Regions from separate parts of the Homo sapiens genome. Here regions 1, 3, 4, 5 and 6 are each linked to region 2. The links are contacts of gene promoters, found by promoter capture Hi-C in blood cells and fetal thymus (Javierre and others, 2016). All regions are on one chromosome and are shown on one strand. The core of a region is centred on a gene start or on the middle of the fragment in contact, and the rest is flanking DNA. Distances in the headings are between cores, read along the strand shown. Region 1 overlaps TMEM170A (transmembrane protein 170A). Region 2 holds the start of ZNRF1 (zinc and ring finger 1). Region 3 overlaps FA2H (fatty acid 2-hydroxylase). Region 4 overlaps CFDP1 (craniofacial development protein 1). Region 5 overlaps CHST6 (carbohydrate sulfotransferase 6). Region 6 overlaps CFDP1 (craniofacial development protein 1).

Region 1 (2,700 bases), core at 192-2,691, 450 kb after region 2:
CTTCAAAAGTTACTGTTTAAGAGGAGGGGCCCACTAACTACTGGTCTATATGTTTAGTGTATGAAATTACATCCAAAGAATGCTTTAGGCAAGAACTCCTTCAAAAGACATTTTTCAGTAAGAGGCATCCTTCAGTAGAGATGATGGCAATCATTTCCCATAAGAAAAGTTACCAATTCCCCAGATTTCTTAAACTGAAGGGATACTTTTGAAAATCACAGCTCTTTAAACAAAAAACTAGAATTTTTACAATTTGCCTGTGAGAAAGATTTGAGCTTCTTGTTAGGGAATTTGTAAGAATATTTGGCTGCATTACAACTCTACTTATAAGTTTCTGCCCGTGTATATGTCACTATAGTTTTGATAAGTTAATTACCAAAATTAGTAATATTATTTTAAGACAGGGTCTTGCCCTGTGGCCTAAGCTGGAGTTCAGTGGCGTGGTCTCGGCTCACAGCAGCCTGAACCTCCCAGGCACAAGTGATCCTCCCACTTTAGCCTCTTGGGTAGCTGAGGCCACGCCCAGCTAATTTTTTTTTATTTTGTAGTAGAGACAAGGTCTCACTATGTTGCCCAGGCCAGTCTTGAACTCTTGGGCTCAAGCAATCCTCCCACATCGACCTCCCAAAGTGCTGGGATTATAGGTGTGAGCCACTGCGCCCAGCCATAAGTGGTCTAATTAGTCAAAAGAATATGTCCAGTTTTTGTGATCTCTTTGTAATTCTTTTCTATGAGTTTCCCTGGCAAATTGGTCCTCCTGACTTTTTTCTTTTTTTTTTTTTTCCAAATTGGGCAGACTCCAGAATCACAGTAGATTCAGAGACTCTCCTCCTGGCTATTTTTAATCAGAAGCCAGAGTGTGTATTGCTTTAAATGGAATAGATACGTTCATGTGTATATGACCTCATGGGCTGTTAAGCCTTAATCTCACAATGAAAACTTTCCTTTAAAGATGTCAGATTTATGGCCAGGCGCGGTGGCTCACGCCTGTAATCCCAGCACTTTGGGAGGCCGAGGCGGGTGGATCACAAGGTCAGGAGTTCAAGACCAGCCTGGGCAAGATGGTGAAACCTATCTCTACTAAAAATACAAAAATTAGCCGGGCACGGTGGCAGGTGCCTGTAATCCCAGCTACTCAGGAAACTGAGGCAGGAGAATCGCTTGAACCCGGGTGGCAGAGGTTGGAGTGAGCTGAGATTGCACCACTGCACTCCAGCCTGGGCAACACAGTGAGGCTCCGTCTCATTTAAAAGAAAAAAAAAAAAAAAAGTCAGATTTAATCACCAGAAACTATTTTGCAGATAACCACCACCACTACCACCACACTGATTGTATTCCATACAAAACAGTTTAGGTGGAAAGGATCACATTAAATACTTAATTTCTGCGATTCTTTCCCTCTCAAAGAGTCACAGTTTTCAGGCCTTTTAATGAAAAAGAAAGTTAGGCAGTAGAATAAAAATTTAAATAGCTAAAATTAAGTTTTAAAAAAACTCTTGATATTTAAATCTCTTTAAAGATATAAATTCTTTTGAATAAAAATGTAAAGGGGAGAGTGGGTACATATCTGAACATTAAACTTTAGGCACTTTCTGGGAGTTGATACCCAATACTGTAAAAGTGGGCTGAAGAGTTACCACTAGGTAAACACATTAAGCTAAAAAATCAATAACCACTAACTCTAGTTTCAGATGCACTTCTATAGTTTCTCAAGGGTCATTAGTATACCAAAGTCACTAAGAAAAACTATGACAGAATGCCTAAAGTATCTTATGTGTGCCTCAATGTCCAAACAAATCTGGCTTAAAATTTCCAACTCAAGCCATTTAATAGGGTATGTATGTTTCCAATTAAATGAAATAAAATTAAGAGAATTAAAAGTGATAGGGAAAGGTGGTACAGAAAATCTAAAAAGTCTAAATTAGCTAGCTTATTTTGATAAAACATACAAAATAACAAATTCACATCTCTTAAAATATCTTAATCAGAAGTCAAGACAGTTGTCCAGAAAATGTCACATTATTCATTGTTATCTACTTTTTATTTATAAACAGTGGAACCAAAGCCACTACTTGAGTTATACTTAAATTTTTTTTCCTGCTTTATTTCACCAAATTTGTTTTCAAAACTATACTCAACCAAAACCTATTTGGCATTTATTGTCACTAAGATGTAGCAAAGAAAAGAGTTTGCCAAATTTTAATCAAGATTAGATAAGATTTTAATACAACATACTCTGCTCATTTGAAATAAACCAGTATCTTCCACGGTTTCTTCAAAATATGCGACATCTCACAGAATACTGTAAATTTCAGTGCAAAGGATGCCACCCCAGAGACACTGTTGACTTGGCTTGGGTAAAGGTACACATGAAAACTGCTTAAATCAAATATCTACAAAAAAGAAAGCCAAAAGACTTGTTTTGGTTGAGAACAATAGGAGTCCACATAAGTCTTCAATTCTAGGAGCTTCAAAATGAAGAAAAGGCTGAGATGTGTTGTCCTTCATGTTCCTGTTCATCCAAGTTGCTTCCCTTTGAAGAACTAAGAAAACACTACACTCCATAATGTATTCTTTTGGAGGATTCCATAAAGTTTAAGTTCAACATCTCAGCATAAGGATGTATGCTATAGAGTAGCTAAAATCCGTAAAAAGGAGACCACCAAGACGCAAAATGTCTGTCCAGTGCCCAGTGTGAGG
Region 2 (2,700 bases), core at 1-2,500:
AGCCTGGGAGGAGCAAGGCTCCGTCTCAAAAAAAAAAAAAAAGAAAAGAAAAAAAAGAAAAAGAAAAACAGGGCGGGCGCGGTGGCTCATGCCTGTAATCCTAACACTTTGGGAGGCCAAGGCAGGTGGATTACCTGAGGTCAGGAGTTCAAGACCAGCCTGGCCAATACGGTGAAACCCCGCCTCTACTAAAAATACAAAAAATTAGCCAGGTGCAGTGTGGCATGTGCCTGTAATCCCAGCTACTCGGGAGGCTGAGGCAGGAGAATCACTTGAATCCGGGAGGCGGAGGTTGCGGTGAGCCGAGGTTACGCCACACCACTCCAGCCTGGGTGACAGGGCGAGATTACGTCTCAAAAACAAAAACAAAACAAAACAAAAAAAACAGTTGTTCAATAAATGAATGTGAATATAGGAGAAAGACGGCTTGAGGTAGCAAAGGAACACTCCCTTGCAAATGATTCAGGCTTGGTCAACAATACACCTATTGAGTACCCACCGTGTCCTTGGCCCGTGGTGAGGGCCGAAACACAGCACATGGTAAACAAAACAGGGCTCCAGCCTTGGACAGAAGGTTTCTATAATCACTTCTAGCTGCGTTGTTCTATTTCCATACCCATATCTATTCACTTTTTATGGTACATCTATTGATTCTGAAAATTACATTTTAGCTAAGGAATCTACTCATTTGCTTAAGCCCAAAATAGGAAGTTATGATCTAGTGTCAGCAAAACGCCGGATTCACAAGTGTCCCCATGGCGCTGTTTACCCCCAAATAACTAAACCCCGCCAAATGTTGAGATTCCGGACGTGAGGGGTGCTTGGATGGGGAACCCCCGAAAGAATGGACATCACGTCCACCAGAGGGTGCTGTGGGGGCAAATTTGTGCCAGGAGGGGAGCTCGACCGGTGACCCTCAGAGCCAGGTAGGCGTAAGGAGTAAATCTCCTTCTTCCCGGTGTTTCCTTCCCACCCCCTCGAACCATTGCTGCCCCTCCCCCATACTTGGTTCCCCCTGAATAATTTGCCACTTTCGGGGACTTAAGAAGTGTTTGCTTTTGAAAGACATCTGGTTTCTGTGGCTAACGCCCAGTGGTCAGGCCGCCCAGGTCACAGGCCGGCCGGGGGCGGGCGGTGGGTGGGGACTGCTGGGGCGTCAGCGGCCCAGGCGCCGCAGGGACCGCGAAAGGGTTAACCCGGCGGGGGGAGGGGGAGGGGGCGCGGGCCGCGCCTGCGCTCTGCCGCCCTCCATTGTCTCCACGGCGGCGAGGAGCGCCGGCGAGCGCAGCCCGGGACCGAGCGGGGCGGCGCGGCTGGCGGGGCCGGCGGCGGCTGAAGCGAGAGCGCGACGCGACGCGACCGCGGCTTCCCGAGCTGCGCCTGGCCGCCCAGCGCCGCGGCCCGCCCGAGGCCTGGAGGGGTCCGGGCCGCCGTCCATGGTCGCGGCGTCCTGAGGCGGGGGACGCGCCCGGCGCCCCCGGCCCTCCTCCGCCTCCTCCCGCGGGGCGGGCGGCCTCCTCCGGCGCCTCCCCGCGCCCGCCCGCCGCTCGCCGCCGCCTCCCTCCCTCCTTCCCTGCGGCTCCCCCGGCTTTCGGAGCCCGGGGGCGGCCTGTGGCGCGCGGAGCCCGCGCCGGACTGCGCCTCTTTGGACCTTGAGGGGAAACATGCGTTTGCCTTGGATCGTTTGAAATTCTGAGTTTGGGATCCCCGCCCGCCCGCCTGCCTCTTCCGCCCCGCGGGTTTTTTCCTTTTTTCCTTTTGCTTTTTTTCCTTTTCTCCCTCCGGGTCTCCTTTTTGACTCCCTCCCCCTTTATGCTCGCCCAGCCCTCCCCCTGCTGCTGAGAAGTGGGGGAGGGTCTCGGCCTCCAGGTTCCCGCCCCACCGGGGCCCGGGCGAGCATGGGGGGCAAGCAGAGCACGGCGGCCCGCTCCCGGGGCCCCTTCCCGGGGGTCTCCACCGATGACAGCGCCGTGCCGCCGCCGGGAGGGGCGCCCCATTTCGGGCACTACCGGACGGGCGGCGGGGCCATGGGGCTGCGCAGCCGCTCGGTCAGCTCGGTGGCAGGCATGGGCATGGACCCCAGCACGGCCGGGGGGGTGCCCTTTGGCCTCTACACCCCCGCCTCCCGGGGCACCGGCGACTCCGAGAGGGCGCCCGGCGGCGGAGGGTCTGCGTCCGACTCCACCTATGCCCATGGCAATGGTTACCAGGAGACGGGCGGCGGTCACCATAGAGACGGGATGCTGTACCTGGGCTCCCGAGCCTCGCTGGCGGATGCTCTACCTCTGCACATCGCACCCAGGTGGTTCAGCTCGCATAGTGGTGAGTCCGCGGGTGGTGGAGGCCTCGGAGGGAGGGCGCGCCGGGGCGCCCCAAGCCTTCGCGTGCGTGCCAAGGTTTGGGAATGTAGTGCACGACCGGGATCTGTCTGCATTCCCTTTGGTTCCCGATGCCAAGGGATAAATGGGATACCTACCGTCTGGAAACTAGGCTTTCTGCGAGGCTGCGGAGCCTGGCGATTTAGGGACTCACGGCGTGTGTTCACTTGTGGAAGGGCAGAGCGAAGCCTACCTATTGGAGTTCCATTTATTGGCATCACCCTCCTCAGAGAAGAGGTCGTGTCTGGCTGAGAGCAAGTCAGCCTGGGTACTTCCATTCTGCCACTGCAGCACTGTGCCTGCCTCACCGGTAACGGAGAGA
Region 3 (2,700 bases), core at 27-2,526, 260 kb before region 2:
AAGGGCAGCCTGCTGCCCAGAGGGTGGGCGGAAGGGCATGGTGCCCCGGTAGAAGGGGGCCTTCCCTGTTTTCCTCCTCCCCCTCCCCAGGACCCCTCCTCCTGGGCAGCACAGGGCCAGGTGGCATAGGACGCTTTCCTGGGGAAGGGTGTGCCCAGAATCTGCTTCTCCCTAAGGTGGCAAATGTGGTGAGCGGGGGCAGGCGGCGGGGGCAGGGTAGCTGCTCAGTGTCAGCAGCACTGCTCACCCCCACAGCGATGAGCTAAGGCAATTGTTTAAAGAAATGTCCACCCAAACTCAGGCATATTGCCCCAGGGCAGCTTTCTGAGCAGAGGTGGAGACAGGCTTCCAGGCAGCCGGGGCTGCGGGAGAGGAGTGGGGGCCGGTTGTCTGCAACCTGGTCGCTGGTCAGCTGGGGCTCAGGCCTCACATCCCCTATCCTTCATGAGCCTTAATTCTGGGAGTTGGGGCCGATGATGACCTCTTTTGACAGATGAGAAGACAGGGTCAGATGTTCGGCTGCATATGCTGTGGCAGGGCCTGGACTCGAGTGCCCCACTCACAGCCCAGGCTCGGCCAGGAGGCCTCCTGTCAGCCAGATTGGGATCCCATGGCTGTGACTTCCTCAGCACAACGGCTGTGATTCCTCACAGCCAGCAGCGGTCAGTGGGGGCAGTGAGGTGGGGCTCTTGGTGGCGTTGCCGGAGTGGCTGCAGGCCCGTCCTGCGCGGTCTAACTGGGACAAGCTGAAGTCCACAGAGGTGGTTCCGGATCACCTGCCTCCTCCCCCTGAGCCCTATGACCCTCCCGTCACCCAGGGGATGTGAGGACAGGGAGGTGGCCTCAGGCTCACCCCACGAGGATTCAGGCAGCGGAGAGTGGATAGGGAGCAAAAATGCCAGAGACACAGGGAGAGATGAAAGACAGCTTGAGCGCTGGCAGAAAGCAGGCATGACCTCTGCCCTTAGGGCTGAAGACGAGCGAAGGGAGCCTGCCCAGGGGCCCCACCCCAAAACCAGGTAGGGTGGTCTTTCCCTTGCAGCACACTTTCTGATATCCTTTAGTACATTCCACTAGATCCTCCAGATAATCCTACGCAATAATAAGATGCAGGGTTGCAATCCCAGCACCTTGGGAGGCCAAGGTGGGAGGATCACTGAGGCTGGGAGTTTGAGACCAGCCTGGACAACATAGCAAGACCCTATCTCTACAAAAAAATTTAAGAAAATTAGCCAGGCATGGTGGTATGCACCTGTAGTCCCAGCTAATTAGGAAGCTGAGGTGGGAGGATGGCTCAAGCCTGGGAGGTTGAGGCTGCAGTGAGCTGCAATCTTGCCACTGTACTCCAGCCTGGGTAACAGAGTGAGAACCTGTCTCTAAAAAAATAAAAAAGATAGAGGGAATAGCTTTCTGCATCATACTGGAACACTGTGGCATCTCTTGCCTCCCAGCCTGCCCTGTCCACTGCCCTCCCAGGGTGTCCTCTAAGACCCACGGAAGCAGAGGGCAGTGCCCAGCCCACCTGCCTGCTTTCTGCCTTGGGGTATTTTTTGAGCACCGCTGAGCTCCTCTGAAGAGGGGCCAGGAGCTCTGAGCAAGGAGGCAGGCAGAGAGGAGACTCAGGGACTCTAAGCCCAGTATGGACAGCCTTGGGGAGGCCCTTTGGATGTTGGGCCCTCCAGACCCCTACTCTGGCTGGGAGGGATTATAGAGAGAAAGGAGGCCCAAGGGGACCCAAGGCGACTAGGCAGGCAGGGTGCCTAGAGGAGAGCCAGGCCAGTGCCCACAGTGCCAAGGCTGGTCCCCCCGAGAGTGTGTTGGCCAAAAGGGCCCTTTCTCTGATCTGGATGCTATCTTCCTGAGTTCTCAGTGACTGATCTGGGGGTCCTAAATGGGCAAAACACTATGGCCAACTTCAATAGCCTTTCCAGGCCCTGGGGACCCTGGTGGTCTGTGTTATGTCAGGCAGGGGGCAGGGACAGGGAGTTTGGGGATGCCTGCTGGATGCGTCTATCTGTCCCTTGAGGGAAGAGGCTGATCACACCCATTGGCCAGCCCCAGCAGCTGGTTATGCCAGCATCTGGCTTAGCCTGAGGAAGGATGGGGAAGAGGATGTGGCTGGCTTGGGAGACACTGCTGGTATCTGCTCAGCCTCCTCCCTCCCTCTGCCACTCCCTCTCCTACTCACCGGCCTCAGGGTCTTATTCATGGTCAGCTGTTGGGGTGGGAAGGTTCCAGGACCTTGTGGAGGGGAGGGGCCGCTATCTGGGCTGCTAGTGTGCCCAGAGGTGACTTTGGGCGGGAGATTTAAGCTCTTCCTTATCAGTTAAATCAGGATAATTATAATCCTTATCCCTCGTGCTGTCAGCAGGATTAAAGCAGATAACCAATAATACATTGAAAGCGGCTGGCACACAGTGAGGGCTCAGTACAAGAGATGTGAATTCAGGGCTAACTCCGCTGCTGAGCATCTGGGCAGCGAACTTCTGCAAACCCCTCAAATCACACCTGTTCTTGCCCCCTCCCCAAAGGGAGGCTGGTCCCCCGGGTGGAAAGGGTGGAGAGGGCTCCCAAGGGAGGGCTCCGAAAAGGACATGGCGAAGTGGCAAAAAGAGGCTGCTGGACCAGGGGGACACGTGTGTCCAGGAGCTGAGAGTGGTGGGCAGCTCTGGCCACCTCACCTGGCTGTGTTCTAGAAAC
Region 4 (2,700 bases), core at 65-2,564, 400 kb after region 2:
AGCCAAGGAGGGCAGATCACGAGGTCAGGAGATCAAGACCATCCTGGCTAACACAGTGAAACCTCGTCTCTACTAAAAATACAAAAGATTAGACGGGCGTGTTGGCACCTGTAGTCCCAGCTACTCAGGAGGCTGAGGCAGAAGAATGACATGAACCCGGGAGGCGGAGCTTGCAGTGAGCCGAGATTGCGCCACTGCACTGCAGCCTGGGTGACAGAGCGAGACTCCACCTCAAAAAAAAAATGTGAAACAAAACTTTACTGCTCATAGCAATGACAGGTATGCTCCAGGAGGGAAGGAAGAGGGGACAATATCTGACTGAAGGGCCACAGAAGCCACTGTAGGAGACTATGCAGAACTCCCCACAGGAGTCAGGTGGGTAGTCAGGGCTATCCATGGTATGGGTCTATGTTCACTTCCCTGTGGCAACAGTCTTAAGCCTCTCTGATTTACTGTAATACTTTACTTCTCACATTTAGGTTAAGAAAAGAATTTTTACTTCTTCCAAAAAGAAAGAATTCTAGCCTTCAGCTAAAAATAACTCAAGTAATATGAAAAATATGAAGGGAGGAAAACCATTAAGTTCCTGACAATGTGTTAAGAAAACTATTTGTAAATCATCTTTGATCTTTTTATGTTCCTCTAAGATCACAGAGGATGGGAGTGAGTGTTCATCGCAAATCTTCATGAAAAGTTCTGCAGAAGGCTGATATTTTCATTTGAAAAGTATTATTTTTAAATGTAAAATTTACACGTTCAGCTTTGTGTTCAATACTATAAACTAGGACTTCTTTTAGGCTGGCAACAAATAAGAAAGCTACAACTAATTTTCTTCGCTTTTTTTTTTTTTTTTTTTTTTTAAGAGACAGGATCTCTCTGTCACCCAGGCTGGAGTGCAGTGGCACAATCACGGCTCACTGCAGCCTCAACCTTCTGGGCTCAAGGGATCCTCCTGCCTCAGCCTCCACAGTAGCTAGGACAGAGGTGCAAGCCACCATGCCCAGCTAATTTTTTTTTTTTTAAGAGACAGGGTCTTACTGTATTGCCCAGGCTGGTCACAAACTCCTGGGTTCAAGCAATCCTCCTGAGAAAGTTATGGCTAATTTTCCTTTGCATCTTCCATTCTGGTAAATATTGCAGCAAAGGCAAAGCAGCATCATAATTCTCTCTCTCAGGCAAGGAGTCTGATCTGCAGCGAAAGTAGGTATTTGCACTGAAAGCTTCTCCAACGTGCCAAGTACATCAGGGAGTGAGACTCAAATACTCACCCTGACCCGGCAGGGAGTGATGGCAGAGCTGAAGGAACATTAGCCTGTGGTTTTTCTTTCTCATTCTGCTTGAAGAAGGATTTGGCCTCTTTAGATGTAGCATCCACTTCCTTAGTTACCCTGTGCCAAGGAAAAAGACATCAAGCTTACAAGAAGAATAAAGAGAAAGAAACAAGCTAGAAAAGGGAATAAAGACAACTAGAAAAAGATCCACTCGGCTTCCAATAAATTCTGGACGCTCAGCATTATGATAAAAGTTTACTATAACTTTCAATAAAGACATTTGCCCAGCCGGGCGTGGTGACTCACGCCTGTACTCCCAGCACTTTGGGAGGCCGAGGCAGGCGGATCACAAGGTCAAGAGATCGAAACTATCCTGGCCAACATGGTGAAATCCCGTCTCTATTAAAAATATAAAAATTAGCTGGGCGTGGTGGCGGGCGCCTGTAGTCCCAGCTACTCGGGAGGCTGAGGCAGCAGAATCACTTGAACCCGGGAGGCAGAGGTTGCAGTGAGCCGAGATCACGCCATTGCACTCCAGCCTGGGCAACAGCACGAGACACCGTCTCAAAAAAATAAAAAAAATAAAAAAACATTTTCCCTCACTAAAATTAACAAATGAAACAACAATGTGTATAAATTTTATCACCCTATAACAACCCAAAGATGAAACAAAATCCCCTAAAACTGGCTAAATTAGCAATAATTTGGGAATGGACGAAAGCAACATGACTGAGAATTTTGTCTAATTTCAAATCTGAAACAATTATCTTCACTAAAACTGAGTCCTAAAGGTTCAAATAAAGGTGTTTATGGTACCTGAGAATTCAGATAAAGAGAGAAGGAGAAATGTTTAATCCCTGCCTAGGCTTTCCAGGTTAACGAAAACACCTGAGGAATGTTGTTTAAATGCAGTCCATCTCCCCTCCATGACTTCTCAGCATGAAACACACTGCAGCAGTCAATACTAAATCTCCATGCTGGTTTACTGATGTGAAGGCTGAAAAAGGCCCTCACACTGCACCCCACATGCAGATTAGCACTCAGCCTTGAAAGCTGAGATGGGGAGATGGAATACTGGGAATATAGGTTATAGAATTGGGAAATAATGCCTAGGTTGGCACTATTTCAAGGAGAAAAACAAGAGTTAAAAAAAAAAATTTGAGGAGACCAGGCACAGTGGCCCATGCCTGTAATCCCAGCACTTTGGGAGGCCAAGGCAGGCGGACCACGAAGTCATGAGTTTGAGACCAGCCTGGCCAACATGGTGAAACCCTGTCTCTACTAAAAATACAAAAAATTAGCCAGGCATAGTGGCAGGCGCCTGTAATCACAGCTACTAGGGAGGCTGAGGCAGGAGAATTGCCTGAACCCAGGAGGTGGAGGTTGCAGTGAGCTCAGACCACGCCACTGCACTTCAGCCTGGGCAACA
Region 5 (2,700 bases), core at 50-2,549, 470 kb after region 2:
TGCAGGACTCAGAAAATGGAGGTTTCCTGGGCCCTGTCTAAGGAAGCCAAGGAGGCGGTCCAGCACACCAGACCCCCTGGCCCCTTGCTGCTCTTTCAACAAGCCAGATGCCTCCCCTCCTTAGGGCTTTTGTGTTAGCTCTTTCCTGCTCCCAGACAGGCTACCCATGATTGCCCTTAACATACTCCCTCACCTCCTGTAAGACTTTCCTCAAATGTCGCTTTCTCACTGAGACCTACCCTGATCACCCCATTAAAAATTACAACTCACACCTCTACACACATATATTCCTCATCCCCCGATCCTTCTCTACTTTAATCCTTGGCACTTTCTAATATGCTAAATAATGTAGCCATTTATTAAGCTTATTCATCAGCTATCTCCCCACCATCAGAATGCAAGTTCCTGAAGGGCAGGGTTGTTGTTGTTGTTGTTTGAGAGAGTCACACTCTATCGCCCAGGCTGGAGTGCAGTGGCGCGATCTCAGCTCACTGCAACCTCCGCCTCCCAGGTTTAAGCGATTCTCCTGCCTCAGCCTCCTGATTAGCTGGGATTACAAGCGTGCACCACCACCACCACGCCTGGCTAATTTTTGTATTTTTAGTAGAGATGGGGTTTCACCATGTTGGCCAGGCTGGTCTCGAACTCCTGACCTCATGATCTGCCTGCCTCGGCCTCCCAAAGTGCTGGGATTACAGGCGTGAGCCACTGCGCCTGGCTGGTTTTTGTTTTGTTTTGTTTTGTTTTGTTTGTTTTTGAGATGGAGTCTCGCTCTGTCGCCCAGGTTGGAGTCCTTTGGCGCCATCTCGGCTCAATTCAACCTCCGCCTCCCGGGTTCAAGCAATTCTCCTGCCTCAGCCTCCTGAGTAGCTGGGACTACAGGTGCATGCCACGATGCCCAGCTAATTTTTATATTTTTAGTAGAGACTGGGTTTCACCATATGGGTCAGGCTGGTCTTGAACTCCTGACCTCAGGTGATCCACCTGCCTCGGCCTCACTAAGGGCTGAGATTAGAGGTGTGAACCACTGCACCCAGCCTAGGGCAGGGGTTTTTGCTTTTTGTCTGTTTTTGGTCCTGCTGTATCTCCAGCTCCTATAATAGCCCAGTGCCTGGTTGGTGCTCAACCCATAATGTGTGTTGAATGAATGAGTGGAGTTCTTGAGGACTGGGAGCAGAATAACACAAGACTTGCAGGACAGGCCAGGTTTTCTGGTCTTACTCCCAAAGGAGAAAATGCTCGATTGGCTGGAATGAATTGCCATCTTGGAAAAATGGATAGTAGGCCAATCCTTTCCATTTCATCAAGACTTTAGCTCTGGTTCTTTCGTTTTTTGTTTGTTTGAGACAGAGTCTCGCTCTATTACCCAGGCTGGAGTGCAGTGGGGCGATCTTGGCTCACTGCAACCTCTACCTCCTGGGTTCAAGCAATTCTCATGCCTCAGCCTCCCAAGTAGCTGGAATTTCAGGCACATACCACCACGCTTGGCTACGTTTTTGTATTTTTTTTAGTAGGGACAGGGTTTCGCCAAGTTGCCCAGGCTGGTCTCGAACTCCTGAGCTCACGCAATCTGCCCACCTTGGCCTCCCAAATTGCTAGCATTACAGCTGCACCCAGCCTAGCTCTGGTTCTTAAGGAACATGGTCTGAATAGAGTCATTCACAGAATAAGGATTTGCACTGTGAGAGGATATTTAAATTGTAAGAGAATCTGCTGGGGGCAGGTGGTGCTTAAATCTAAATCCATTAACTTGTGAAGGTAGTCGGGATAACCCACTGGACCTCAGCATAGGGGTCACTCGACCTAAAGAAATTGCTCGCCTGATCCACTGGTGTGGAGTGGGCCTGTGGGTGAGGGACAGATTCCAGCCCATGGTGGTTTCAGTGTGTGATGAGTGAGATCATTCAGTAGAGGGCGCTGGGAGAACTGATGACTCGCACCGATCAGGAATATTGCATGCAATTTAGATCCAAGCGTAAAACACTAGACTACTAAAGTACTGGAAGCAAGCGTGAAGACCATTTTTATCACTGTAGCAGGACAAAGTCGTTTCAACAAGACATAAAATCCACTGGCCATAAGGAAAGGATTCACATTCAACAATATGATAAACTAGGTGAAACTTTTTGAAATTTGATTGTGATGAGGTGGTGATTTGATTTCACAGGTATATACAAATGTTTAATCAAACTTTACACTTTATGTGCAGATGTTGTATATCAATTATAGCTCAATGAAGCTTCTTTTTTTTTAAGAAGCCTGAGGGGAAAATGCCATAAAGTAAGTTAACAAAACAACAACAACAAAAAACAGATGACAAGCTAGGAGAAACCATTTGCACAACAAAAATAACAAAGCATATTCAAAAGAGGCTGTGGTAAGTCAACAGCAACATGGGCACAGCCTTGAACAATGAAAAAGGAATACAGTTGAGTCATAAGCATGAAAAGATGTTCAGCTGCCCCAGGAATTAAAGAAGTGCAGACTGAAACATCAAGTAACATTTTTCACCCATCAGGTAGGCAAAAATTAAAACCATTGATTTAACCCTGTAGAGGTGATGGGGCAGTTGTGGCAGTGGTGGGGCGCAGTCTGTAGGAGTGGGTGACAAAGGCACATCAAAGACAAAGCTAGGGGACACAGGGTCTGTGGTGGCCATGAGGAGTTGATACAGTGTTGATGTGGATAATATATCTTCTT
Region 6 (2,700 bases), core at 31-2,530, 380 kb after region 2:
GAAAATCATCCAAAGCAACAAACATGCAGTTGCCCCAAACTGCTTTAGCAATAAATAGAATTTCATGCTGAGTGGCAGACTGTTTAGCTCACATTCCTGTAACGTCCCCTACATCTATTTCACGCAGCAACTTCGCTAGCAGTCACCAGCCACAGCCTGAACACTGTAGTAACAGGGCACATTATACATCAAAATCCCTTAGATACATTTTAACCCAGCATCTATGGTAGAAAACAACCAAGAGTTTCTTGTTATCCACAAGGCAAGCCAAAGTTAAGTGCAGGAAAGGCTGAGGGAATACCATGTGCTTCCTTTCTGACTGGAAAACAAGGCTTCCAGGCAACACAGCAGGGTTTCTGTGCACTCTGACAGGGATGTGCGTTGTAAGCTGCATTGCTATGGAAACAACACTTCTACAACTAGAGGACAAGTCAACCTGAAATAAAGGAAATAGCAGGAATTGCAAAATAGGTCTTGTGGAATGAGTAAGGAGCATCTCACGTCTCTGCTTGAACTATGGCATGATTAAGCTGAAATAAAATGTCATTCCAATCATATAACAGACATTTACAGTCTGTTTTTGGGGTCAGCTACTTGCTGAACACAAGCTATGAAACCAAAACCACCCTGCTTTTAAGATGAAAACTGACAAAATATGCAAAACTAAAAGGATAAGAACTAAATTTCCACAGATCAAAGTTTTAAAAAATGGTGATCATTAATAAAAGCTATTCATTTACTCCTTAATCAAATACTATAAATTATTTGCCACGTACCAGGCTGGACACATACAAAAAAGACAAAATCTACGCCTTCAAGCTCACAGCGTAGTGATGGAGACTAAGGTGTAAAACTGACGATGAGGGAGTATGGGATAGTTAGTGCTACAATAAAGGCTATTAAACAAATGCAGTTGCAAAGGGGTAGTAGTTAGAGTTTAGTGCAAGACACAGACACTGACTGGCCGACAAAAAAGGAATTTATTTAAAAGATATTGGGGTAAAAACAAAGATACTGGTCTTTCCAAGTGTCCACAGAATATACAAGACAGACCACATCCTGGCCCATAAAATTAATATCAACAAATTTAAAAGAGTTGAAATCACAAAGAATGTGTTCACCAGCAACATGATCAAACTAGAAAGCAACAACAGAAAGACAACAGAAAACTCTCTGAAAACTTGGAAATGGAACAATACACTTCTAAATAATGCATGGGTCAAAAAGAAAGTCTCAAGGGAATTAAAAAAATAATGAACGGAATAAAATCATACATGTATCAAAAATTGTTGAATATAGCTAAAGCAGTGTGAGGGAAATGTGTAGTAAGAAATACATACAGTGTAAAGAGGAAAAGTCTCAAATCAATAATCTAAGCTCCAACTTCAAGAATCTAGTAAAAAAAAAGAGCAATATATAGGCAAACCAAGCAGAAGCAAGGAAATAATTATAGAAGTAAATGAAATTGAAAACATAAAGGGAAAGATCAATGAAACAGAGCTGGTTCTTTGAACAGATCAATAAAATCGACAAACGTCTAGCAAGACTGACCAAAAAAAAAAGAGAGAGAGAGAGAAGGCACAAATTACCAATATCGGAGGTAATGAAATGGGATATCACTACAAGTATCAAAAGGATAAGAGAATATTATGCAGAATTCTACCCAAATAAATTTGGCAACATAGACTAATTCCTCAAAAAAGACAAACCACAAGACACTCAATATGAAAGAGCCCTGTAACTATTAAGGAAACAATTTGTCATTTAAAAACTCCCAAAAAGGAAATCTCTAGATTAGTGATTACCAGAGGTTAAGGAGGGGGTGAGGGCAGGAGGAAAGTGTATGTAGCTATAGAGAACATGAGGAATCTTAGCAGATATGAAAATGTTCTGTATCTTGACTATATCTGTCAATGTAAATATCCCAGTTGTAATATTATAAGATGGTACCATAGGGGGAAACTGGGTCAAAGGAACAAGGAATCTCTGCACTAGTTTATATGACTACACATGAGTATACAACCTCTTAAAATTAAAGGTTTATTTATTTATTTTTTTAAAGGTAAAGGGATTGCTGGGCGTAGTGGCTCATGCCTGTAATCTAAGCACTTTGGGAGGCCGAGATGGGCATATCACTTGAGCCCAGGAGTTTGAGACCAGCCTGGGCAACATGGTGGAACCCTGTCTCTACTAAAAATACAAAAATTAGACAGGCGTGCAGGTACTCATTTGTAGTCCCAGCTACTTAGGAAGCTGAGGCAGGAAAATCGCTTGAACTCAGGAGGTGGAGGTTGCACTGAGCTGAGATTGTGCCACTGCACTCCAGCCTGGGCAACACAGCAAAACTCCATCTGAAAAAAAAAAAAGAAAGAAAAGCTACATAGGGTATCTGCACTTAAAGCCGATGAACTTCCATTTTAGGCAAGATGGATACTTAAGATAACCTAAACATTTTCCAGATAAAGACCTAGAAATGCTACATAAAATATACCAAAAATTATTTTAAGTGTATAGCTAAACTCATAAGAAAGAATGGGCAACCTCCGGGTATTTGGATCAAAGAAGGAACTGAAAACCACAGTAGAGCACATGAGCTGAAATAGTGGTTACAGCCGGCAGGGTGGGGTGGGGGAAGACAGTTTCAATAACTTCCAGTCGGGGTTTTATTTGCCACGTGATAATAAAAATGGTCTTGAGCTT

What was found. The method cuts DNA at HindIII sites, captures the fragments that hold promoters and counts their contacts. A CHiCAGO score of 5 or more calls a contact.
Region 1: a fragment that was not itself captured here is called in contact with the fragment with the promoter of ZNRF1 in region 2 in 3 of 17 cell types (neutrophils, M1 macrophages and fetal thymus); the score reaches 8.1 in neutrophils.
Region 3: a fragment that was not itself captured here is called in contact with the fragment with the promoter of ZNRF1 in region 2 in 1 of 17 cell types (fetal thymus); the score reaches 5.9 in fetal thymus.
Region 4: a contact is called between a fragment that was not itself captured here and the fragment with the promoter of ZNRF1 in region 2, in 5 of 17 cell types (M1 macrophages, naive CD8 T cells, fetal thymus and 2 more). The highest score is 9.2, in M1 macrophages.
Region 5: a fragment that was not itself captured here is called in contact with the fragment with the promoter of ZNRF1 in region 2 in 1 of 17 cell types (total B cells); the score reaches 5.1 in total B cells.
Region 6: a fragment that was not itself captured here is called in contact with the fragment with the promoter of ZNRF1 in region 2 in 8 of 17 cell types (fetal thymus, megakaryocytes, naive CD8 T cells and 5 more); the score reaches 7.7 in fetal thymus.

What each region holds. Positions count from the first base shown.
Region 1 is chr16:75,444,931-75,447,630 of GRCh38, forward strand. It overlaps TMEM170A (transmembrane protein 170A), which reads right to left. Exons shown (of 3, transcript NM_145254.3): 3 at 1-2,700. The coding sequence ends at 2,628. Among named protein-coding and RNA genes, the nearest start is that of CFDP1, 13 kb to the left of the region's middle. The HindIII fragment of the contact is 6,922 bases long and covers 1-2,700 here.
Region 2 is chr16:74,997,774-75,000,473 of GRCh38, forward strand. It overlaps ZNRF1 (zinc and ring finger 1), which reads left to right and starts at 1,251. Exons shown (of 5, transcript NM_032268.5): 1 at 1,251-2,322. The coding sequence starts at 1,899. RefSeq lists silencers at 1,043-1,562, 1,963-2,272. The HindIII fragment of the contact is 6,289 bases long and covers 1-2,700 here.
Region 3 is chr16:74,734,606-74,737,305 of GRCh38, forward strand. The region is part of intron 2 of FA2H (fatty acid 2-hydroxylase); the gene reads right to left. Among named protein-coding and RNA genes, the nearest start is that of MLKL, 35 kb to the left of the region's middle. RefSeq lists an enhancer at 2,692-2,700. The HindIII fragment of the contact is 9,725 bases long and covers 1-2,700 here.
Region 4 is chr16:75,393,822-75,396,521 of GRCh38, forward strand. It overlaps CFDP1 (craniofacial development protein 1), which reads right to left. Exons shown (of 7, transcript NM_006324.3): 5 at 1,269-1,388. Among named protein-coding and RNA genes, the nearest start is that of CFDP1, 38 kb to the right of the region's middle. The HindIII fragment of the contact is 193 bases long and covers 1,219-1,411 here.
Region 5 is chr16:75,470,045-75,472,744 of GRCh38, forward strand. CHST6 (carbohydrate sulfotransferase 6) reads right to left here. Exons shown (of 3, transcript NM_021615.5): 3 at 2,008-2,700. Among named protein-coding and RNA genes, the nearest start is that of TMEM170A, 6.7 kb to the left of the region's middle. RefSeq lists an enhancer at 1,605-2,247. The HindIII fragment of the contact is 1,875 bases long and covers 363-2,237 here.
Region 6 is chr16:75,377,784-75,380,483 of GRCh38, forward strand. All of the region lies in intron 5 of CFDP1 (craniofacial development protein 1), which reads right to left. Among named protein-coding and RNA genes, the nearest start is that of CFDP1, 54 kb to the right of the region's middle. The HindIII fragment of the contact is 3,092 bases long and covers 1-2,700 here.